Regions from separate parts of the Homo sapiens genome. Here regions 1, 2, 3, 4, 5 and 6 are each linked to region 7. The links are contacts of gene promoters, found by promoter capture Hi-C in blood cells and fetal thymus (Javierre and others, 2016). All regions are on one chromosome and are shown on one strand. Each heading gives the region's core, a stretch centred on a gene start or on the middle of the fragment in contact. The rest is flanking DNA. Distances are from core to core; before and after follow the strand shown.

Region 1 (2,790 bases), core at 213-2,712, 270 kb after region 7:
TAAAACACAGCATGTTTTTGTCTTATGCACAGTAAATGTCCTTTTTCTCAAACCTAAACCACTACACCTAGTTACCAAAACCAGAAAACAAAGTTATGGACTCCCCCTTTACCCCTATCCTCCACATTCAGTCATTGACCAAATACTGAAGAATATGTATTTTTTTGTGACTGGACATCCAGTACCTCCTCTTCACCCTTTCTGGGATGTCTTTAGTTCTAGGTTTCATCATATCTTCCCAGAAGTCTTACACTAGCCTTTTATTCTCCAACTTTTCCCAACAGTTACACCCAATTCATTCTTGCACAGCTGCCAAAACTATCCTTCAAAAAAGCAAATTTGGCTGGGCATGGTGGCTCACACCTGTAATCCTAGCACTTTGGGAGGCGAAGGCTGGCAGATCACCTGAGGTCAGGAGTTCAAGACCCCCTGCCTGGCCAACATGGTGAAACCTCGTCTCTATTAAAAATACAAAAAGTAGTCTGGCATGGTGGCGCACGCCTGTATTCCCAGCTACTTAGGAGGCTGAGGCAGGAGAATCGTTTGAACCCAGGAGGCAGAGGTTGCAGTGAGCTGACATTGCACCACTGCACTCCAGCCTGGGTGACAAGAGCAAGACTCCGTCTCAAAAAAAAAGCAAATTTGATCATAGTAACCTGTGAGAACCCCATGACCTGTGAGATTTGAGGTGTGTGAGCTGGCTTATGCTTTTCCCTCTTTTTCTCACTATGTCCCCAACTTCACTTCTGCTCCAAAGGAAGAGTTAGGATGAGTCCAAAGTTTTTGGCCCAAGCAACTAGAAGGCTAAAGTGACCATCAAGTAAGATAGGGAAGGCTATAGGTAGAACAGACTTAGGGAAGATTGGGGATTTAAAATGTGTTGAATTGAGAAATAATTAAACATCCAAATGGAAATGTCAAGTAAACAGGTATTTAAGTCTGGAGTTTAGAAGAAAGGTCTGGGCTGGAGATGGAGATTTGGGAACCATCAGCAGATGTATTTACAACCAAAAAATGGTGTGATTATCCAGGGAAGGAAATGTGCTGTTTCTCTGGTAACTAGTAATGTAACCACTTGTCAGTGTAGCTGTTGAGCACTTGAAATGTGGCTAGTGCTACTGGGGAATTAAATATTTAATTTTATTTTGGTTAATTTAAATTTAAATAACCATAAGTGACAAGTGGTCACTATACTGAATGGAACAGATGGAGAGAATGAGTTTAGATTAAGAAGAAAGGAGGATCAATGTCTGGGCTCTGAGTATTCCACAATTAAGAGGTCACAGAGATGAAGTGGGACCATAAAAGGATACTGAAAAGTAGCAAGGGAAAAAATCAAATATGAAATTTTCTGGAAACCAATTGAAGAAGGTATATCCAGGAGGAGCAAGTGATCACCTCAGTCATATGTTGCTGATAAGTCAAGTAATATAAAACTGTTCTACCTCACCCATCATCAGGCAATAGTTTCATAAGGAACACACAACCTAGATCCCTCCCATGCGTAGTTCACAGTAGGATTTGCACTCCTATGAGAATCTAACGCCTCCACGGATCTAAGAGGAGGCAGAACTCAGGCCCTAATACTCACTGCTCACCTCCTGCTGTGCCCCCGCCCAGTTCCTAACAGACCACGGACTGGTATTGGTCCTCAGCCTGGGTTTGGGGACCCTTATCGTAATTGACACTTTACCATAACACCCTCTTCATCATTGGTAGCTTGTATAACTGTTTTTAGGGGGAAGGTTTTTTTGGGGTGTTTTTGTTTGTTTGTTTTTGGAGATGGAGTCTCTGTTGCCCAGGCTGGAGTATGGTGGCACGATCTTGGCTCACTGCAACTTTCACCTCCCAGATTCAAGCAATTCTCCTGCCTCAGCCTCCCGAGTAGCTGGGATTACGGGCAGCTAGCACTACGCCCAGCTAATTTTGTATTTTTAGTAGAGCCTGGGTTTCACCATGTTGGCCAGGCTGGTTTCAAACTCCTGACCTCAAGTGATCCGCCTTCCTCGGCCTCCCAAAATGCATATAGGCATGAGCCATCATCCCCACCCTTGTATAAATTTTACTGGGAAATCTCTGCAATTTAGAGACTATCTGAACATTTTAAAATAGCCACAATAGCTGATTCTGTTTCAGTGAAGTCCCACAAGAACAAATACTCTCTCAGTTAATTCTTTCAAGGTATTTTAGAAAGAGAGAGAGAGAGACAAGCAGGAAGGAAATGTAGGGTTGGGGTTTTTTTCATGATTTATACATAAGCATGTATATTCCTTGATTAAAGATGTTTCTGGTTAGTTTTGTGCAATAACATTCAAAACGGATGCTTCTGATTGATGTAGTTTTAGTGTCCAATGAGTGATTTAACAAAATTATTTGCCTAGTAATGGTTTTGAAAATAATTTGATCTCCTTCTTGGTGATATTTAAGGAAGGAGCTAATAGGAACATTCACTTTTGTTATGAAGCCATTTTGATACGGATTGAAACAGGAAACAGAGTAAAACAACACAGTGCTACCCAAGTGAAGCTAGTGACTGAGCTGTGTTCGCATGTCCAGTATCAGCTACACTCATGGTTTTTTTGGTTTCCATGGTTTCTTTTTCTTGGTTTATCAAAGGATTCAGAAAAAAGATTTCAAGAAAAGATAGAGTTCCTAGAAGCACCATTAATTTTTGTGTCCCATTCTTTTTTTTATACTCAAAATACTAAATGTTTCTAGTTTCCATGTTTTGGGGACATCTAAATATGCTAGTTCTTTCAAAAATGCTTTGAGGTCCTTGTACAGAGGCCA
Region 2 (2,909 bases), core at 293-2,792, 340 kb after region 7:
ATGCCTTTTTTGTGGCAGCACTTAGATTCTCATTCAGAAAACAAACGCATTCATGCCGTACCAGTGATTTGTTGGGGAAACTGCCTCGGCCCCACCACCCAGATCCCCCACGTTCCTACCAAGTAAGCCAAGTGACCATGTGAAGAACTGACTGACACCCAGAGGAAACTAATAAACAAAAACAAATAAAAGCAAATACCTTTTCAGGAATCTCACTTGGAAAACCAAGTATAATGGCAAAAACAACCAAAAAAAAAAACCCGAATGTTTTCAGCGTTGGGGATGTTGGGGGTGTAGACATCTCGAGAGCTGGTTTCCGAAGGCACCGCACCCCAGACAATGTGCTACAAGAGCCTCCCGGCTGCTGTGTCAATGAAGCCTTTCAGGCCCTCCACACTGCTTCACTTGTTCCCTAAAGTAGTGCTTTCTGGAAGCTAAACTCTCAGCTGGCGAGAACAGTGAACTCTGTGCCATTTGTCTATCAACTCCTTTAAAAAGAAAAACCTCCTGTACGGCTCTCTTGTTTTGCATTTTCTATTCTGCACTCCAGTACGCATAACGACACACAGAAGAGGCAAGGGCCTCTTTTAAAACCGTGAAGAAAGAATAAATTTGAAAGCACCCAGAAGCCTCTGCTTTCAGCTATTAGAGAAAAGTTTGCATCCCATAGAAACCAGTACTAATTAAAAAAAAAAAAACTCAGTCCTCAACCCTGGGAATCAACAATAAGGGACTCTTCAGGGTGTGGAGTAACAAAAAAATTTAAAAACAAAAAATAAATGTGCACAGCCCATCTATCTTTTCCCAATCAAATAATACAGCCTTCCAAAATGTAAAAATAGAAATATTTTCACATGTGAATTTTACCTCAATAAAGTAATTTTTTAAAAATCTTTTTAGCCGGGCACAGTGGCTCATGCTTATAATCCCAGCATTTTGGGAGGCCAAGGCAGGCAGATCACGAGGTCAGGAGTTCAAGATCAGCCTGGCCAAGATGGTGAAACCCCATCTCTACTAAAAATACAAAAAATTAGCCAGGCATGGTGGTGCACACCTGTAATCTCAGCTACTCGGGAGCTGAGGCAGGAGAATCGCTTGAACCCAGGAGACAGAGGTTGCAGTGATCCAAGACTGAGCCTGCACTCCAGCCTGGGTAACAAGAGTGAAACTCAGTCTCACAAAAAAAAAAAAAGAAGAAGAAGAAAACAGGAAGTGCCTTCCATAATTCCAAATACAGTATTGTTAAATATTAATGTATTATGTCCAAATAGTTCAGTGAATTTCAAGTTTTCATCCAGATGAATGGAGTTCTTCATATTCATTCAACTAATAAATATTCCTTGAGCATCTACGACATGCTAGGCATTTTTACAAGTAAAAACAAAAGTAGACAAAAATTGCTGTCTTTATGGACTCTATATTCTAGTAGAGGGCAGAAAAGCCAGTGACCGATAAAAGCCAGTGACCAACACTTGTGTTTTTTAGCTGACTTATTCTTGGGTATTTAAAAGAGATCTTGGGCCGAGCAGTGGCTCATGTCTGTAATCCCAGCATGTTGGGAGGCCGAGGCGGGCGAATCATCTGAGGTCAGGAGTTCGAGACCAGCCTGGCTAACATGGTAAAACCCCATCTCTACTAAAAACACAAAAAATTAGCCAGGCGTGTTTGGCGCACGCCTGTAATCCCAGCTACTCGGGAGGCTGAGGCAGGAGAATTCCTTGAACCTGGGAGGCGGAGGTTGCAATGAGCTGAGATTGCGCCATGGCACTCTGGCTTGGGCAACAAGAGCAGAACTCCGTCTGAAAAAAAAAAAAGATCTTGAAGTTCAAAAATTATACGAGTCTGTTATTTTCCTAGTCTTTTCTCCACTCCAAAGAAAGATAAACCTAATTGGTATTCCTTACCACTACAACAATCAGGACCACTGAAGTGAGAGGAAAGGAAGCTATACAAGGATGTATTTAAAGCTCATTACTTAAACAAAATGAAAACATAAGATCCAGAGAGTTCTTTTTATGTTTGTTTAAGAGCTTCAGAAAGGCTGGGCAGGCTGGCACATGCCTGTTGTCCTAGCTACTCGGGAGGCTGAGGCAGAAGGATAGCTTAAGCCCAGGAATTTGTATCCACCCCAGGCAACATAGTGAGGCCTCATTAAAAAAAAAAAGGAAAGAAAAAAGGGTTTTAGAAAACATAATCTGATGCACAGATTATAGAGTTTTGCATTTTTAAAAAATAGATCTAATTGATAAGACAGCAAAAAATGAATATGTGGAACCCAGCAATTTCATTCCACGTACACACTAGAGCAGTAATCAGCAAACATTTTCTGCATAGAATTAGATACCAGATATTTTAGGCTTTGCACGCCATCCAGTCTCTGTTACAACCACTCACTAGGCCTGAAAACGGCCTTAGGTAATATATAAATGCATGAGCATGGCTGTTCCAATAAAACTTTACTTATGGACACTGAAACTTGAATTTTCATGTGTCATAAAATATTAGTCTTTCCATTTTTAAAAACCATTCAGAAATGTAAAAACCACCTTAGTGTCTGGGTCATACAAAAAAAAGGTGGAGGGTCCACGGGCCAGACCATGGTTTGCCAATCCCTGCTCTAAAGAACTCTTACAGGCCAGGCACAGTGGCTCGCGCTTATAATCCCAGCACTTTGGGAGGCCAAGGTGGGCAGATCACATGAGGCCAGGAGTTCAAGACCAGCCTGGCCAACACAGTGAAACCCTGTCTCTACTAAAAATACAAAAATTAACTGAGTGTGGTGTCGCGCATCCGTGGTCCCAGCTACTTGGGAGGCTGAGGCACGAAAACCGCTTGAACCCAGGAGGCAGATGTTGCAGTGAGCCGAAGTCGTGCCACTGCATTCCACCCTGGGTGACAGAGCAAGACTC
Region 3 (2,774 bases), core at 164-2,663, 370 kb after region 7:
ACTTGGCCTCTCAGTTACCTTTCCTAGAAGGGATACACGAGACCTTCACCTAGCAACATGACTACTGCACTTGAAATGTGGCTAATCCAGGCACTTTGGGAGGCCAAGGAGGGAGGATCACTTGAGCCCAGGAGTTTGAGACCAGCCTGGGCAACATGGTGAGATCCTATCTTTATAAAAAGAAAAAAAAGAAGAAGAAAGTAACTAAATAAAAATAAAACTCTGTTAAAAAAAAAAAGAAAGAAAGAAAAGTGGCTATCTGAATTGAGATTTGCTGTAAGCATAAAATCCATCCCAGATTTGGAAGACTTTGCATGAAAAAAATACAAAACATCTTACTAATGATTTTTTACATTGATTACATGTAGAAAGTATAATATTTTGAATATGTTGGGTTAATTAAAATACATTAAAATTAATTTTACCTGTTTCTTTTTAGTTTTTTAAATATGTCTACTAGAAAATTCTAAATACATCTGTGACTTGCATTTTTATTTTATTTATTTATTTATTTCTTGAGACAGAGTCTCATTCTGTCACCCAGGCTGGAGTAGAGTGGCTCGATCTTGGCTTACTGCAGCCTCTGCCTCCCAGGCACAAACAATTCTCCTACCTCAGCCTCCCGAGTAACTGGGATTACAGACACCCACCACCATGCCTGGCTAATTTTTGTGTTTTTAGTAGAGACAGGGTTTCACCATGTTGGCCAGGCTGGTCTCCAACTCCTGACCTCAGGTGATCCACCCGCCTTGGCCTCCCAAAGTGCTGGGATTATAGGTGAGAGCCACCGCACTCCACCAACTTGCATTTTTGACAGAATTATATGTCTATTAAAGAGCGCCAATTTAGAACACTGAACAATAATACCATAAACAATGTAAATATACATTCTCCCTGTAAATTAATAAATTGACAACTTGATTTAGAAATCTGACTTTGGTGAATTTTCACGGCACAAGTCTGTCCCTCACATATTGATCGATTTTGTATTTACAAACTCAAATACATCTCCTTCTATAGCCCTGCAAAATGAAGGATCACGCCTTCACTGAAGTGAGCAAATCAAAGTTTTGGCATCTTCTGAGCTTTCTGGGCACAAGCTGTCAGCTCAGCCATTTCTCTGCCTGCAATTTCGCTCTTGGTTTATAATCTTGGGTTTAGGCTGTTTTTCAAGGGATAGAGTTGGTATCATTCATATTTGTTTTCCTATCACTTATGTTCCTTAAACAAAGGATTTTAAAAGTTTGTTAAATATTCTACATTTTATGCCTTTGATCATAGCTGTAAGACTGCTTGCCTTGAAAAGGATTTGCACATAATTCTCCATGGTTTTTTTCTTAATATGTTAATTGCAAACCGCTTGTAAAGATTGAGTACATGAAGATCTGAAAGACAGCAGTTATTTACAGTCATGTAAAGTAAAAATGGCAAGTGATATCTAATTAATAGCTAATAACCTAATAATATGGAGTGGAAACTTGATAACCATTACAGCACACTGTATTTTATTATCAAGGACAGAGCCTTAGAGACAGACCACAGAATTGATGTTTCATCATTATGCGATGGCCTACATTATATGACCTCTTATTTGTCCCTCAACTCCAATAGCAACCTCAAGGCTGATATAGAATAGCAGTGGAAAGGAAAATAAATGACACAAAAAGAAAAGTAGGTTTATCATGGGACCAATGTAGTGCTTTGGCCTCATAGCAGAGACCAGATGGTAGCAGCTCCTCTCTCAGCAGGTAGCTCTTCAATATCCTACGGGTTGTAAACAACAAATTCACATCATCTCCACCTGCTAATAAGTATTTTTTAAAATATTGCGGCAACATCGAAACAATGCTGAAAATACAATCCCTCAATATAAGAAAAAAAGTTTTCCTAAATATTTAGTCTGTTAAAAGAAAAAGTCTTTTCTGAGAAATGCTATTACCCACTAGAAAATCTTGGCTTCTTAAAATCCAAGAATATTCTCATCTCTTTTTTTTTTTTTTTTCTTTTTTTGAGACAGAGTCTCACTCTGTTGCCCAGGCCAGAGTGCAGTGGCGCGATCTTGGCTCACTGCAAGCTCCACCTCCCAGGTTCAAGCGATTCTCCTGCCTCAGCCTCCTGAGTAGCTGGGATTACAGGCACGTGCCACCATGCCCGGCTAATTTTTGTATTTTTTAGTAGAGACGAGGTTTCACCATATTGGCCAGGCTGCTCTCCAACTCCTGACCTTGTGATCCACCTGCCTCGGCGTCCCAAAGTGTTGGGATTACAGGCGTGAGCCACAGCGCTCGGCCTCTTTTTTTTAAATAAAGTAAATGGCCCTCATTTTACCCAATTTTGTGACTTTGTAAAAGCCAATGAAAATGCCTGAGAAACTACTGACATTAGTTTTACTGCAGTTAAATATTTGTTAACTTTGCCAGGCGCGGTGTCCCGTGCCTGTAGTCCCAGCTACTTGGGAGGCTGAGGCAGGAGACGGCTTGAGCCCAGGAGTTCTGGGCTGTAGTGTGCTATACCGATCGCGTGTCCGCACTAAGTTCGGCACCAATATGGTGACCTCCCAGGAACAGGGGACCACGAGGTTGCCTAAGGGGAGGGGTAAACTGGCCAAGGTCAGAAATAGAGCAGGTCAAAACTCCCGTGCGGATCAGTAGCAGGATCGTGCTTGTGAATAGCCACTGCACTCCACCCTGGGTAACAGACCCTGTCTCTCTAGATAGATAGATAGATAGATAGATAGATAGATAGATAGATAGATAGATAGAGCGTATATATAT
Region 4 (2,760 bases), core at 150-2,649, 420 kb after region 7:
AAAATCTATAGCAGGAAGTAAGATTAGACTTTCAAAAACTATCCTTAAAAGCCTTGGGATGAAGCAATTACATAGAGCCAAGGAATTTTGCTTCTGGGAGCCCTATCTAGGTAAGCTAGGGCACACTGAAAGGAAGATGAGTCCCAGTCTGTTCTCCCCAGATCAGAAGACCTCAGTGCCTCCCTTCAACCTAAGAGAGCTGCTCCCCAAACAGCTGGGGCAGTACTTCCGCTACAATGGCTCGCTCACAACTCCCCCTTGCTACCAGAGTGTGCTCTGGACAGTTTTTTATAGAAGGTCCCAGATTTCAATGGAACAGGTAAGTGGTGGAGAAACGAGGTGAGGTGAGACACAGTTGTAACTTCAGACCCCTTCCCACTCCCCAAAGTAACACCTCTCCCACGCTTCTGCTCCTCAGCTGGAAAAGCTTCAGGGGACATTGTTCTCCACAGAAGAGGAGCCCTCTAAGCTTCTGGTACAGAACTACCGAGCCCTTCAGCCTCTCAATCAGCGCATGGTCTTTGCTTCTTTCATCCAAGGTGATTCTGCACGGCTCAGAAGAGATGGGAAACTGAGGGGGACACAATGGCAGGAACTAGGGAGCCAATGGGAAGAAAAGGCTAAAAGGGGAGGGGGTTTCTGGGACTTGCTTGGACTGGGAACCAACCCCCACCCCAGGGTGCCCCCGGGGGATTCTCCCAGGCACAGCAGCAGAGAGTGCTGCTCCCAGCTGGGATGGGGATCTGAAGTCCCACTGACCCATTTTCTTCTCTTACAGCAGGATCCTCGTATACCACAGGTAAGCCAGCCTTATAAGATAATGCGGGGAGGGGAGGTGTCCTCACCGAGTGGGGGAAAGGCTCAAAATCTATGTTAGTCCTAGGCTGACACCTTTTACCTTTATCTCCCCCAGGTGAAATGCTGAGTCTAGGTGTAGGAATCTTGGTTGGCTGTCTCTGCCTTCTCCTGGCTGTTTATTTCATTGCTAGAAAGATTCGGTGAGGCCCTACTTTCCATTCCTCCAGTCCCTTCTTCTTTTTTTTTTTTTTTTTGGTAGGTGGGAGACGGAGTCTTGCTCTGTTACTCAGTCTGGAGTGCAGTGGTGTGCAATCTCAGCTCACTGCAACCTCTGCCTTCTGGGTTCAAGCAATTCTCCTGCCTCAGCCTCCCGAGTAGCTGGGACTACAGGCACGCACCATCACACCCAGCTAATTTTTGTACTTTTAGTAGAGACAAGGTTTCACCATATTGGCCAGGCTGGTCTCAAACTCCTGACCTCAGGCAATTCGCCTGCCTCAGCCTCCCAAAGTACTGGGATTATAGGCATGAGCCACCCGCTTTTTGAGACAGGTTCTCACTGTTGTCGAGGCTGGAGTGCATGGCTTTATCACAGCTCACTGCAACCTCCACCTCCCGGGCTCAAGTGGTCCTCCCACCTCAGCCTCCTGAGTAGGTGGGACTACAGGCATGTGCCACCATGCCCAGATAATTTTTGTATTTTTAGCAGAGACGGGTTTTCACTACATTGCCCAGGCTGGTCTCCAACTCCTGACCTCAAGTGATCCGCCCGCCTCAGCCTCCCAAAGTGCTGGGATTATAGGTGTGAAACACCTTGCCCAGCCCTCTTTTCTGTTAAAAAGCATTCTCCTATTTCACCTCTAATCTGCTTCACTTAGATAGCAGTCATTCTCATGAGCCATTCCCCTTTCCAGGAAGAAGAGGCTGGAAAACCGAAAGAGTGTGGTCTTCACCTCAGCACAAGCCACGACTGAGGCATAAATTCCTTCTCAGATACCATGGATGTGGATGACTTCCCTTCATGCCTATCAGGAAGCCTCTAAAATGGGGTGTAGGATCTGGCCAGAAACACTGTAGGAGTAGTAAGCAGATGTCCTCCTTCCCCTGGACATCTCCTAGAGAGGAATGGACCCAGGCTGTCATTCCAGGAAGAACTGCAGAGCCTTCAGCCTCTCCAAACATGTAGGAGGAAATGAGGAAATCGCTGTGTTGTTAATGCAGAGAACAAACTCTGTTTAGTTGCAGGGGAAGTTTGGGATATACCCCAAAGTCCTCTACCCCCTCACTTTTATGGCCCTTTCCCTAGATATACTGCGGGATCTCTCCTTAGGATAAAGAGTTGCTGTTGAAGTTGTATATTTTTGATCAATATATTTGGAAATTAAAGTTTCTGACTTTAATTCTGGCCTATCCTTTGAGGCTCTTGAGGGTGGGCAAGTTCCTGAATCCCTCAGGTGGTAAAGATGGGCAAAGGATGGGGAAAAGAAGCATGGGTGATTAACTCCTTTTATCCCACCCCTGGAAGGAAAGATAAGCTTCTGGGAAGACACTTAACCCAAAGTTTCAGACATGTTAAACCACTAGCCCAGATTTCTGCCCTTGCACCAAGGCTATGCTTGGAAATCAGTGGTTGCCAGGTTAGGAAAGTGGCTGGATGAGAGATCTGAGGACAGAAATCTCAATTAACATGCTATCCCCTCCCTTAAAAGCCAAGTTCCCCCACAATTACAAATTCTTTTTTATTAGTCAAAATCACAATCACCTTGATTAAAAGGATGGGACACTCCACCCTCAGCAGAAAATGATACAGTTTATAGAAAACCTCCCCGCCCCTCCCACACCCCAATTAAAAACTACAAAAAAATCTCCCCTCCTTCCCTACGATGTCATGGTAGTCTGACTCCTCCAGTGGCACTGCAGCTCTGGAGTGGCCAGCTCACCACAGCACCCTCCACTTCACCT
Region 5 (3,135 bases), core at 164-2,663, 320 kb after region 7:
AGGGCCAATTCTGTGTCAGTCCATCTCAGACAGAACTGTATGCCACCAGAGGCATTTGCGGGAGGCCTCCTTGATGCCAAGATCAAAGGCGAGGGAAGTCCTTCCACCCAATGCCTCTGCCAGATCTAAATCAAAAGGTTTTATTCAGCGCCCATTAGGAGTTCAAAAGTCCCAGCTCCCAGTAATGTTACCCTCTTTCGGAGAAAATGAGTTATACCCACAGGAAAATGAAAAATTAGCTACTGTATGGTGGCTGTCTTGATGGGTAACAACATGTAGTACCGCGGGTGTTTGGAGGAGAAAGGATCACAATGAACTCCTGAAACATACAACGTGCTAGTTTCTTTCATGCCTCTGAGCTCTTAAGTCTTCAGAGAGAGAGGCAGGCAGGTATAATGCAGAGAACACAGGCTTTGGAGTTAGAACCTGAGTTGGAACCTCACTGTAATCAGCTACCTGTGTGGTTCCCTGAAGTTGCATGTCTCCAACTGTAAAATGAGGCAGTAATCATGCCTGCCTTGAAGGGCTGCTGTGAGGAATGACTAAAACAACATATTTGGTATTGAATACTCATCATTTTTAGTATTCTGGAAATAAGAGAACAAATTTTATTATAAGGCAAGGGGGCTGAAGTGTGGGACTCAGAGGATGCAGATGGAGGAGGACAGTCGTGCCATGGGGAGCATCCTGTGTGCATCAGATGCAGTTTAATTGCTGAGAGTCCACAATACCAAGGAAGAGGGCGCCCCTCAGGAAGCTTATGGTAGAGTGGAGAATACAGGAAACAAGTAACAAACTAAATCACAGAAGAAGAAACATTCAAGTCACTATCAAAGGAATAAGAAACAGCACATTCAGTAGGAGGGTTCAGTCAAGAGCAGAGGGCTTTGCCAGGCAGGGGGGCTCACACCTGTAATCCCAGTACTTTGGGAGGCTGAGACGGTGTATCACTTGAGGTCAGGAGTTTGAGACCAGCCATGGCCAACATGGTGAAACCCTGCCTCTGCTAAAAATACAAAAAAAAAGAGCTGGGCGTGGTGGTGCACGCATGTAATCCCAGCTACTCGGGAGGCTGAGGCAGGAGAATGGCGTGAACCCGGGAGGCGGAGCTTGCAGTGAGCTCAAATCGTGCCACTGCACTCCAGCCTGGGTGACAGAGCAAGACTCTGTCTCTAAAAAAAAGTACTTCTCATTCAAGGAAGGCTTGTAGAGGAAAATGACCACAGCTTGCATCTTTTAGGCAGTCATTCCGAAAATCCCTCCTGATGACAGGTTCCCCACTCATTCCCCCCTTCCTCCACAGGCTTCCACCTCTACCTCGGATGGGATGCTGACCTTGGACTTGATCCAAGAGGAAGACCCTTCCCCTGAGGAACCAACCTCTTGTGCTGAGAGCTTTCGGGTTGACCTGGACAAGTCTGTGGCCCAGCTGGCAGGGAGCCGGCGGAGAGCGGACTCAGACCGCATCCAGCCCTCCGCAGACCGGGCAAGCAGTCTCTCCCGACCTTGGGAAAAAACAGACAAAGGGGCCACCTACACCCCCCAGGCACCCAAGAAGTTGACGCCCACAGAGAAAGGCCGCTGCGCCTCCCTGGAGGAGATCCTATCTCAGCGGGATGCTGCCTCTGCCCGCACCCTCCAGCTGCGGGCTGAGGAACCCCCAACCCCTGCCCTCCCCAACCCGGGGCAGCTGTCCCGGATCCAGGACCTGGTAGCAAGGAAACTGGAGGAGACTCAGGAGCTTCTGGCAGAGGTTCAGGGACTGGGAGATGGGAAGCGAAAGGCCAAGGACCCCCCTCGGTCTCCGCCGGATTCTGAGTCAGAGCAGCTGCTGCTGGAGACGGAACGGCTGCTGGGAGAGGCATCATCGAATTGGAGCCAGGCAAAGAGGGTGCTGCAGGAGGTCAGGGAGCTGAGAGACCTGTACAGACAGATGGACCTGCAGACCCCGGACTCCCACCTCAGACAGACCACCCCGCACAGTCAGTACCGGAAGAGCCTGATGTGAGGGCAGGGTGGGGTCTGGAACTTGTCGGGTTGGACAGACTCTTATCTCCGTGTTGCTGGATAAAGCTTTTTTATTTACCTCAATCAAAAAAAGAAAACAAAAATGAACTCATTGCTCTTGCTGATGCCTGACCCCACTACAACCCTTATTGCCCCACCTACTTTCCATATGCCCCTCGTATGCCCCTCAGGTTTGAGGAAGTGACCCCGCAGCAGTAGCAGGAAGTTTTTACCCAGCCAGAGAGAGAGAAGGCACGGTAAAGACACAGTCTGACCACTCCACACACCGCCCGCCCCCAAGACGGCACAGGGAGTCCACTGCTGCTCCCAAGGATACAGTGGGCTTCTAAGCTTAGAGCGGGAGGGGGATGAGGATGTTTTCTGTTATGTCCCACCCCAGGCCTTCAGTTTGAGGGTGAAGTTTCAGCTGCCCAACTCTAGTTGTAGGGATGTGGAGGCCAGTGTCACCTGTCCGTGCACATGGAAGTGAAATTTATCCCAGCCCTGAGGAGGATTTGTGGAATTAAAATCTCCCCAGCCAGACACTGGCTTCTCATTCCTAGCAGTCTCTCATTGAGATCGAGCTGCCTGGATTTTCTTACATGAGGTGTTTCTTCCCTTCATCTTCCACACCCTTCCCAACCTTGACTCAAAGATCCACCCTTGTCGGGCGCAGTGGCTCACGCCTGTAATCCCAGCACTTTGGGAGGCCAAGGCGGGTGGATCACCTGAGGTCAGAAGTTTGAGACCAGCCTGACCGACATGATGAAACCCAGTCTCTACCGAAAATACAAAAAATTAGCCAGGCATGGTGGTGGGCGCCTGTAATCCCAGCTATGCGGGAGGCTGAGGCAGGAGAATCACTTGAACCTGGGAGGCAGAGGTTGCAGCAAGCCAAGATTGTGCCATTGCACTCCAGCCTGGGCAACAAGAGCGAAACTCCGTCTCAAAAAAAAAAAAAAAATCCAACCTTGAGTGGATGAGACTAGTTTCATTATTTGATTCAGGGCCCTAGCACAGGGGAACTAGAGACAGACCCCACAGAAGAACTGAACTAAGAATGAAACTGGTGTGTGATGCAAGCTGGGTAGGATGAAGGGGAAAACCAAACATCTGTCCAAGTTCCTC
Region 6 (3,160 bases), core at 450-2,949, 300 kb after region 7:
TCTTCAAGAAAAGCTATTACCTAACATTGATGAACTCTCTTTTTTTTGAGACAGAGTCTCACTCTGTCACCCATGCTGGGGTGCAATGGGATGATCATAGCTCACTGCAGTCTCTAAATCCTGGGCTCATGCTCAAGTGATCTTTCCACCTCAGCTTCCTGAGGAGCTGGGACTACAGGTGTGCACCACAATGCTTGGCTAATTTTTAAAATTTTTTGTAGAGGGTCTTGCTATGTTGTCCAGGCTGGTCTTGAACTCCTGGACTCAAGCAATAGGATTAAAAATATCCTCCTGTTTCGGCCTACCAGAGTTCTGGGATTATAGGCGTGAGCCACCATGGGCAGCCAGTCACTAGTTTTATTTTATTTTTGTTGTTGTTGTTGTTGTTGTTTTGAGATGGAGTCTTGCTTTGGTGCCCAGCCTGGAGTGCTGTGGTGCAATCTCAGCTCACTGTAACCTCCGCCTCCCAGGTTCAAACGATTCTTGTGCCTCAGCCTCCCAAGTAGCTGAGATTACAGGCATGCACCACCACGCCTGGCTAATTTTTGTATTTTTAGTAGAGACAGGGTTTCACCATGTTGGTCAAGCTGATCTGAAACTCGTGACCTCAAGTGACCTCAAGTGATCCTCCCGCCTTGGCCTCCCAAAGTGCTGGGATTACAGGCGTGAGCCACCGCACCCAGCCCAGTCACTAGTTTTAAAATCTCACACCACTACCATCTCCAATACTCCTTTTTTAAACCTGCTTTATCTTTTCCCATAGTATTTCTTCATCTAACATATTACAAAGAGGCAGTATAGCATTATAGTTAAGAAGACAAACTGAAGCCAGATTGCCTGGGATTATATCCCAATTCCATCACTTCTGGTGTGTGTGTGTGTGTGTGTGTGTGTGTGTGTGTGTGTGTGTATTTAAAGTGGAATGGTTTCTGTCCATTAGAGCAGTACTTTGCATATAGTAATATGTGTACACCATTATTATTGTATTATTATTATTAACTACTAATTAATTTTATTTTCCTTCTCTCCCATTGGAATATAAATTCCATGAGAGCAGAGGGGTTTTTTTTTACTTTCTTCATTGCTGTATTCACAGCTTCTAGAACAGTGCCTAGCACATAGTAGACACTCAGTAAATATTTGTTGATCAAATTATGTTATTTCTGGAGTGATGAGGATAAGGAGGGTCAAGGAAGACAAGGTATATGTTTAGAACTTTTACAAAGAGAATGTACTCATGTATCCTTGTGCCCCTAAAAGCTTCATAAGCTTGCATGGAAAATGGACATACAGACAAATAAATTACAACACAGTATATTTACAAGATATGGAAGAATGAGTACGTAACTCTAAGGGGAAAGCAATGCAGTTGAGGAAAGCTTCCTAGAGGAGTAATAATGTGAGAGTTGGGTTTTTAAAGATGCATAGTTCCACCAAACAAAGTGTGAGATGGATGGGACAGCCTTTGAATAGCAGGTGCAAAAGCAAAGAAGTATGAAACATAGCAGTGGCTCTGAAAACTGCAAGCCGTGGAAGTTGAGAGGTGAGGAGCATTTTCAGTGTTTTAAGCTATTAATAATTTCATCTTATCCTTCTGCCTTACCCACTCCCATACTCCTAACTTCTCCAAGTAAGTGTTTGGCTGTAATTAGGAGCTTATTACTCCATTAAGACAAATATCTTGGGGTTTTTCTCATTATTTTCCTGAAAGTCTTTTTCTATTTTTCTGCTCCCCACAAGTTCTATTTTTTTAATTATTATAACACTATTCAGGTTCTAGATTCCCCTTGGTGTCTTTGGTATAAGAAATTCACATGTAATTTTTACCTGTGGAGTATAGTGAAAAAGGAGGAAGACATATCCTTAAATTATATACACATACACACACATAGTTTTTGTTACAGTATGATAGCTTTGTTTAGGAATAGAAACACAGTTGTTCAGCTGAATTATTTTAGTAATTAATATTTTTAATCCTATAAACATTGGTCTCTAGTCCCTTACCAGTGATGTAAGTGGAGAAGCTTGCTTTTCAGTGTGTGACTCAAGACTTCTCAAGGTTGACTTTTTAAAATCAGGGTTGGGGTTCTGCTTTTTTCCACCCACCTTCCTTCTATACATGGAGTCAGGAAAACACCCTTGATGACAGCACAAACTAAAAAAAGCAGTAGCATTAATCCACTCTGTTAGTTTCTGGCACTGCCTCTGTTTATACTCATATTGGATTGTGATTGTGTATCTGTCTCTGAGAGTCCCTTAAGGTAGGAATCATAACTAAGGTGTACATTTGTACACCTAGTTCAACACCTAGTTCATAATGGATGCTCATTAAACATTTGTTGAATTGGATTGAATTGAACTGAATTGAACTGGACTATGGCACCAACGGAGAAGGGGATTTTTGAGTTTGCTTTTAAGTGAGATTGATTTAAAATGAATTTAGAAAGAAAAATTATTCTTTTTGTTTTGTTTTTAAACATAGTCTAAATTTGGGGTACAGCTAGCAATATGTTCATTCGCCATAATTTTTTAAGCATTCTGAGCAATGACTCATTAGAGTCCCCAAATAGTTTTTTTTTAAGTCATAGTGGCCCTAGGAAACAAAATTAGGCTGGTAAATATAAATAGTAAGTGTGTTCTCATTATAGTCAGGAATGTGGGGTCTTGTTGATATACAGAGGAGGATCTTTATTTCTTCCCTTTGTAGCAGAGTTGGAAATGAACCAAAGATCCCCTGATAAAATTCCTATAGGGCTTCCCAGCACATTTATTTCATTCTTTCTAGAAGTCATCAAGACTTATTGTGTTATTGTTCAAAAAAAAATCAGTGCTACCTCATTTCCTAACACTTGTTTTCTGACCTCCAATTGTGTCTAGTCCAACTGGCCAAAAAGCCAGGCCAAAGATGTCTGTATTTCCATAGAGGAACAAATGAACTTAGCTTCTACTCCTTTCCCTCTACTTTGCAATTTTTTCTTTTGCAAAGGAGTTTGGAATTTAAATTCTCCAAGCCCAGAATCTTTCAATGCAAGATGGTAATAAAACTGCAAAACAATGGTAATAACTGGTCATTCCTCCAGTCCTCTGTCTTTTAAATATCTGTCTGCTCTGAGAGAGAGTCCTGAGCATCCAAATAACTTGTTGTTGTTGCTGTTGTTGT
Region 7 (3,078 bases), core at 77-2,576:
CTTCAGGGTGAAAGTCATTTTCCATTGCAGCTTTGTCAGATTGTTCCCTTTCCGCCCTTCGCTTCCTTAGAACACACTGCCCGCAATACCCCCCCTTTCTTGCTGCGCCCTACAGCTCCCGCGTGGAACCTCATTCTTCCATTTGCCCCCCGCCCCCAGTTGCTACTTGGCGGATCGTTTTTCGCCTGTCGGGTGCCTTTTGGGTGGGAGAGGTGCCCGCCCCCAGGACGCAAGATTCCGCCTCCGAGGCCCTTACTCTCCGCCGCCAGGGCGCTTTGGAAAACAAAACAGAAACTAAGACTTAAGTCAGCTCAGTGAAGCCAAGACCCAGCTCCGCCACACTAGCGAGCACTACCCGCTCAGGGCCCTCCCCATCGGGGGTGGGGACGAGGAGCACGTCCCGCTGGTGCCAGACTAGGTCTAAGTGTCCGGCCATAGCCTGCGGAAACCACTAGGGAAGCGCGCGCTCCGCGCGCAACACTTCAGCGCGTTGGGTACTGCCCGCGGCGCTGGTGTTTGTGACTGTGTGGAGCGGACCGTGGCGGCGCCCAGGACGTTTGGTGCCTGCACCTGCCCTGGGAAGTCCTAGGACTGGGGACCCACTCATCGAAGAGCCAAGGCAGTTACGTGCTCCAGATGGAAGACGGCGCGCACACACACACACCCCGCCCCGCCCCGCCCCGTCCCGTCCCGTCCCGTCCCGTCCCGTCCCGTCAGCTCCAGGTTCGCTATTCACTACTGAGGAACGCTGGACTGAGAGTGGCCAGCATTAACAACTCTTTTATTTGAAAACGTGGGTGGCTCTGAAAAGAGCCTTTTGAGTTCACAGGTGCCCCTTCGAGACGCGGGCCGGGCTGGGCCCACTTGGGCCGGACGTCAGCCTCACTTGCCCTTTGCCTTGTGGTGACTCTCCGTCTTCTTAGGGAGCAGTACGGCCTGGATGTTAGGCAAGACGCCGCCCTGGGCGATGGTGACTTTGCCCAGCAGCTTGTTCAGTTCCTCGTCGTTGCGGATGGCCAGCTGGAGGTGACGAGGGATGATGCGCGTCTTCTTGTTGTCCCGAGCCGCGTTGCCCGCCAGCTCCAGGATCTCGGCGGTCAGATACTCGAGGACCGCAGCCATGTAGACGGGCGCGCCGGCCCCCACTCGCTCCGCGTAGTTGCCTTTGCGCAGCAAGCGATGCACTCGCCCTACCGGGAACTGAAGGCCAGCGCGGGACGAGCGCGACTTGGCCTTGGCGCGGGCCTTGCCTCCTTGCTTGCCACGACCAGACATGACAGCGATAGTAGTCACCGAGAGAAACTCCTGCCTGGCGATCGGGAAAGTCGCCGAAAACGCCGCTGCTTCACCTTTTTATAGACAGAACGGCGATTGTCCACGGAGCACTTTGATTGGCTCAAGCAAATTTTGTCCCGATAGCCAATAGGATAGCTCAGCCAGAATCCACTCATTTACATAATCTCGTCTCCCTCGCATTGCGCGCCGCGGAAAACTCGCGAACCATAACGCAGCGTCATGCGCACAGCCTCTGTAAGTACACAGTCGTTTCCGGTAGACCCCGAGCCTACCGCTCTGCTTGCGTTCTCGGGGGTCGGTGTCGGTCTTGGGTCTGGCCATGCCTGAGCCTGCAAAGTTCGCGCCGGCTCCCAAGAAGGGCTCCAAGAAAGCCGTCACCAAAGCCCAGAAGAAAGACGGCAAGAAGCGCAAGCGCAGCCGCAAGGAGAGCTACTCCATCTACGTGTACAAGGTGCTGAAGCGGGTCCACCCCGACACCGGCATCTGGTGCAAGGCCATGGGCATCATGAACTCCTTCCTCAACGACATCTTCGAGCGCATCGCGGGAGAGGCGTCCCGCCTGGCGCACTACAACAAGCGCTCCACCATCACGTCCCGGAGATCCAGACGGCCGTGCGCCTGCTGCTGCCCGGCGAGCTGGCCAAGCACGCCGTGTCCGAGGGCACCAAGGCGGTCACCAAGTACGCCAGCTCCAAGTGAGTCCCTGCCGGGACCTGGCGCTCGCTCGCTCCCTCCCTCCCTCCCTCCGCGGGTCGCCGGCTGCTTTGTCTCCAAAGGCTCTTTTCAGGGCCACTTAACCCCGTTAGTGAAATAAGCTGTTTTCCCACTGCTTACTGTGAGTTCTACTTAGGGGTTTTCCCTCAGCACCTATCCCTTTTCCTGCAGATGATGGGAGAGGAATATAAGATAAAGCTATAAGATGTAGCTTGGTCGAGAACTACCTTGTAGTGACAGGGTCATGTGCACATAATTTGCCTTTTCCAAAGTGAGACGATATGCTACGGGTGCGGTCAATGTAAATCTGCTCAGGAGAGTCAAGGGAAAAAGTGTTAACTGCATATTGAGCTCGCAAAATTGTGTAGTAACCTGAAAATATTCCTAATAGTTTTGCGACCAAGCCTCACCATATAAACTTTCCTTCCGCACCTGTAGACCTCCATTCTGTGGTTGAAGCAATTTTTGGTTTATATAGCTCTCTTGTCTCAATTTGGTATTCCTTTCAGGTACTGTGAGTCTATAGGTATTTATTTCTGGGTTTCAAGACGTTAAATGCCATCAGAATTGAGTAATGCAAAGGCTGCTGTCATGGATAGTAAAGCTTTTTAGTCAAGTGCTGATAGACAATTCCCCATTGTTATCGTTGGGTATTTTACAATTTTCTGGGCAAGAAATGTAATGAAAAATTAAGTAAGTTTTAAAGGCCTTCGTCTTTGAGACTGGATACCTAAAACAATAGTGTTTCCTAAACAGTTAAAACTTATTTAACCCTGAAGCTTTCGAGACACACAAATATATACAAATATATATTGTATATTTCTTAAACCCCACATAGTTCCACTGATCTAAATCACTGGGGGCGAGAGGCAAGGATAGACAATCTATGACACAACACCAGGTGATTCATAAGTTTGGTAACCACTGACATTTGATTATGCAGTTGCCATATTCCTTAGTAAGAACCTGGTCACAATTTTCACTCACTACCCCAGGCAATTCCCCCTCCCCACACCCCCCTTTTTTCTGAGAATTTCAGTGAGATATACAAAAGTTTCATTTAATCCT

What was found. The method cuts DNA at HindIII sites, captures the fragments that hold promoters and counts their contacts. A CHiCAGO score of 5 or more calls a contact.
Region 1: a fragment that was not itself captured here is called in contact with the fragment with the promoter of H2AC18 in region 7 in 2 of 17 cell types (activated CD4 T cells and total CD4 T cells); the score reaches 5.4 in activated CD4 T cells.
Region 2: a fragment that was not itself captured here is called in contact with the fragment with the promoter of H2AC18 in region 7 in 17 of 17 cell types (neutrophils, total B cells, naive B cells and 14 more); the score reaches 13.9 in neutrophils.
Region 3: a contact is called between a fragment that was not itself captured here and the fragment with the promoter of H2AC18 in region 7, in 13 of 17 cell types (total B cells, naive CD8 T cells, monocytes and 10 more). The highest score is 7.7, in total B cells.
Region 4: a contact is called between a fragment that was not itself captured here and the fragment with the promoter of H2AC18 in region 7, in 1 of 17 cell types (M2 macrophages). The highest score is 5.2, in M2 macrophages.
Region 5: a contact is called between a fragment that was not itself captured here and the fragment with the promoter of H2AC18 in region 7, in 13 of 17 cell types (endothelial precursors, M1 macrophages, naive B cells and 10 more). The highest score is 11.6, in endothelial precursors.
Region 6: a fragment that was not itself captured here is called in contact with the fragment with the promoter of H2AC18 in region 7 in 7 of 17 cell types (M0 macrophages, M2 macrophages, M1 macrophages and 4 more); the score reaches 8.8 in M0 macrophages.

The regions. Positions count from the first base shown.
Region 1 is chr1:150,107,275-150,110,064 of GRCh38, forward strand. The region is part of intron 13 of VPS45 (vacuolar protein sorting 45 homolog); the gene reads left to right. Among named protein-coding and RNA genes, the nearest start is that of VPS45, 41 kb to the left of the region's middle. The HindIII fragment of the contact is 3,882 bases long and covers 1-2,790 here.
Region 2 is chr1:150,182,043-150,184,951 of GRCh38, forward strand. No RefSeq gene overlaps it. Among named protein-coding and RNA genes, the nearest start is that of LINC02988, 23 kb to the left of the region's middle. The HindIII fragment of the contact is 8,966 bases long and covers 1-2,909 here.
Region 3 is chr1:150,209,217-150,211,990 of GRCh38, forward strand. It overlaps the pseudogene RN7SL480P. Among named protein-coding and RNA genes, the nearest start is that of ANP32E, 26 kb to the right of the region's middle. The HindIII fragment of the contact is 5,688 bases long and covers 1-2,774 here.
Region 4 is chr1:150,262,881-150,265,640 of GRCh38, forward strand. CA14 (carbonic anhydrase 14) reads left to right here. Exons shown (of 11, transcript NM_012113.3): 7 at 162-319; 8 at 419-539; 9 at 779-799; 10 at 914-998; 11 at 1,713-2,198. The coding sequence ends at 1,779. APH1A (aph-1A gamma-secretase subunit) reads right to left here. Exons shown (of 7, transcript NM_001077628.3): 7 at 2,524-2,760. Among named protein-coding and RNA genes, the nearest start is that of SNORD13C, 2.6 kb to the left of the region's middle. The HindIII fragment of the contact is 1,864 bases long and covers 468-2,331 here.
Region 5 is chr1:150,157,516-150,160,650 of GRCh38, forward strand. PLEKHO1 (pleckstrin homology domain containing O1) reads left to right here. Exons shown (of 6, transcript NM_016274.6): 6 at 1,304-2,550. The coding sequence ends at 2,008. Among named protein-coding and RNA genes, the nearest start is that of LINC02988, 1.6 kb to the right of the region's middle. RefSeq lists enhancers at 1,341-1,842, 2,973-3,135 and a silencer at 2,143-2,192. The HindIII fragment of the contact is 1,316 bases long and covers 756-2,071 here.
Region 6 is chr1:150,139,519-150,142,678 of GRCh38, forward strand. The region is part of intron 14 of VPS45 (vacuolar protein sorting 45 homolog); the gene reads left to right. Among named protein-coding and RNA genes, the nearest start is that of PLEKHO1, 8.8 kb to the right of the region's middle. The HindIII fragment of the contact is 645 bases long and covers 1,378-2,022 here.
Region 7 is chr1:149,841,424-149,844,501 of GRCh38, forward strand. It overlaps H2AC18 (H2A clustered histone 18), which reads right to left and starts at 1,327. Exons shown (of 1, transcript NM_003516.3): 1 at 795-1,327. The coding sequence starts at 1,275. The coding sequence ends at 883. It also overlaps the pseudogene H2BC19P and a transcript of H4C15 not described here. The HindIII fragment of the contact is 2,631 bases long and covers 1-2,612 here.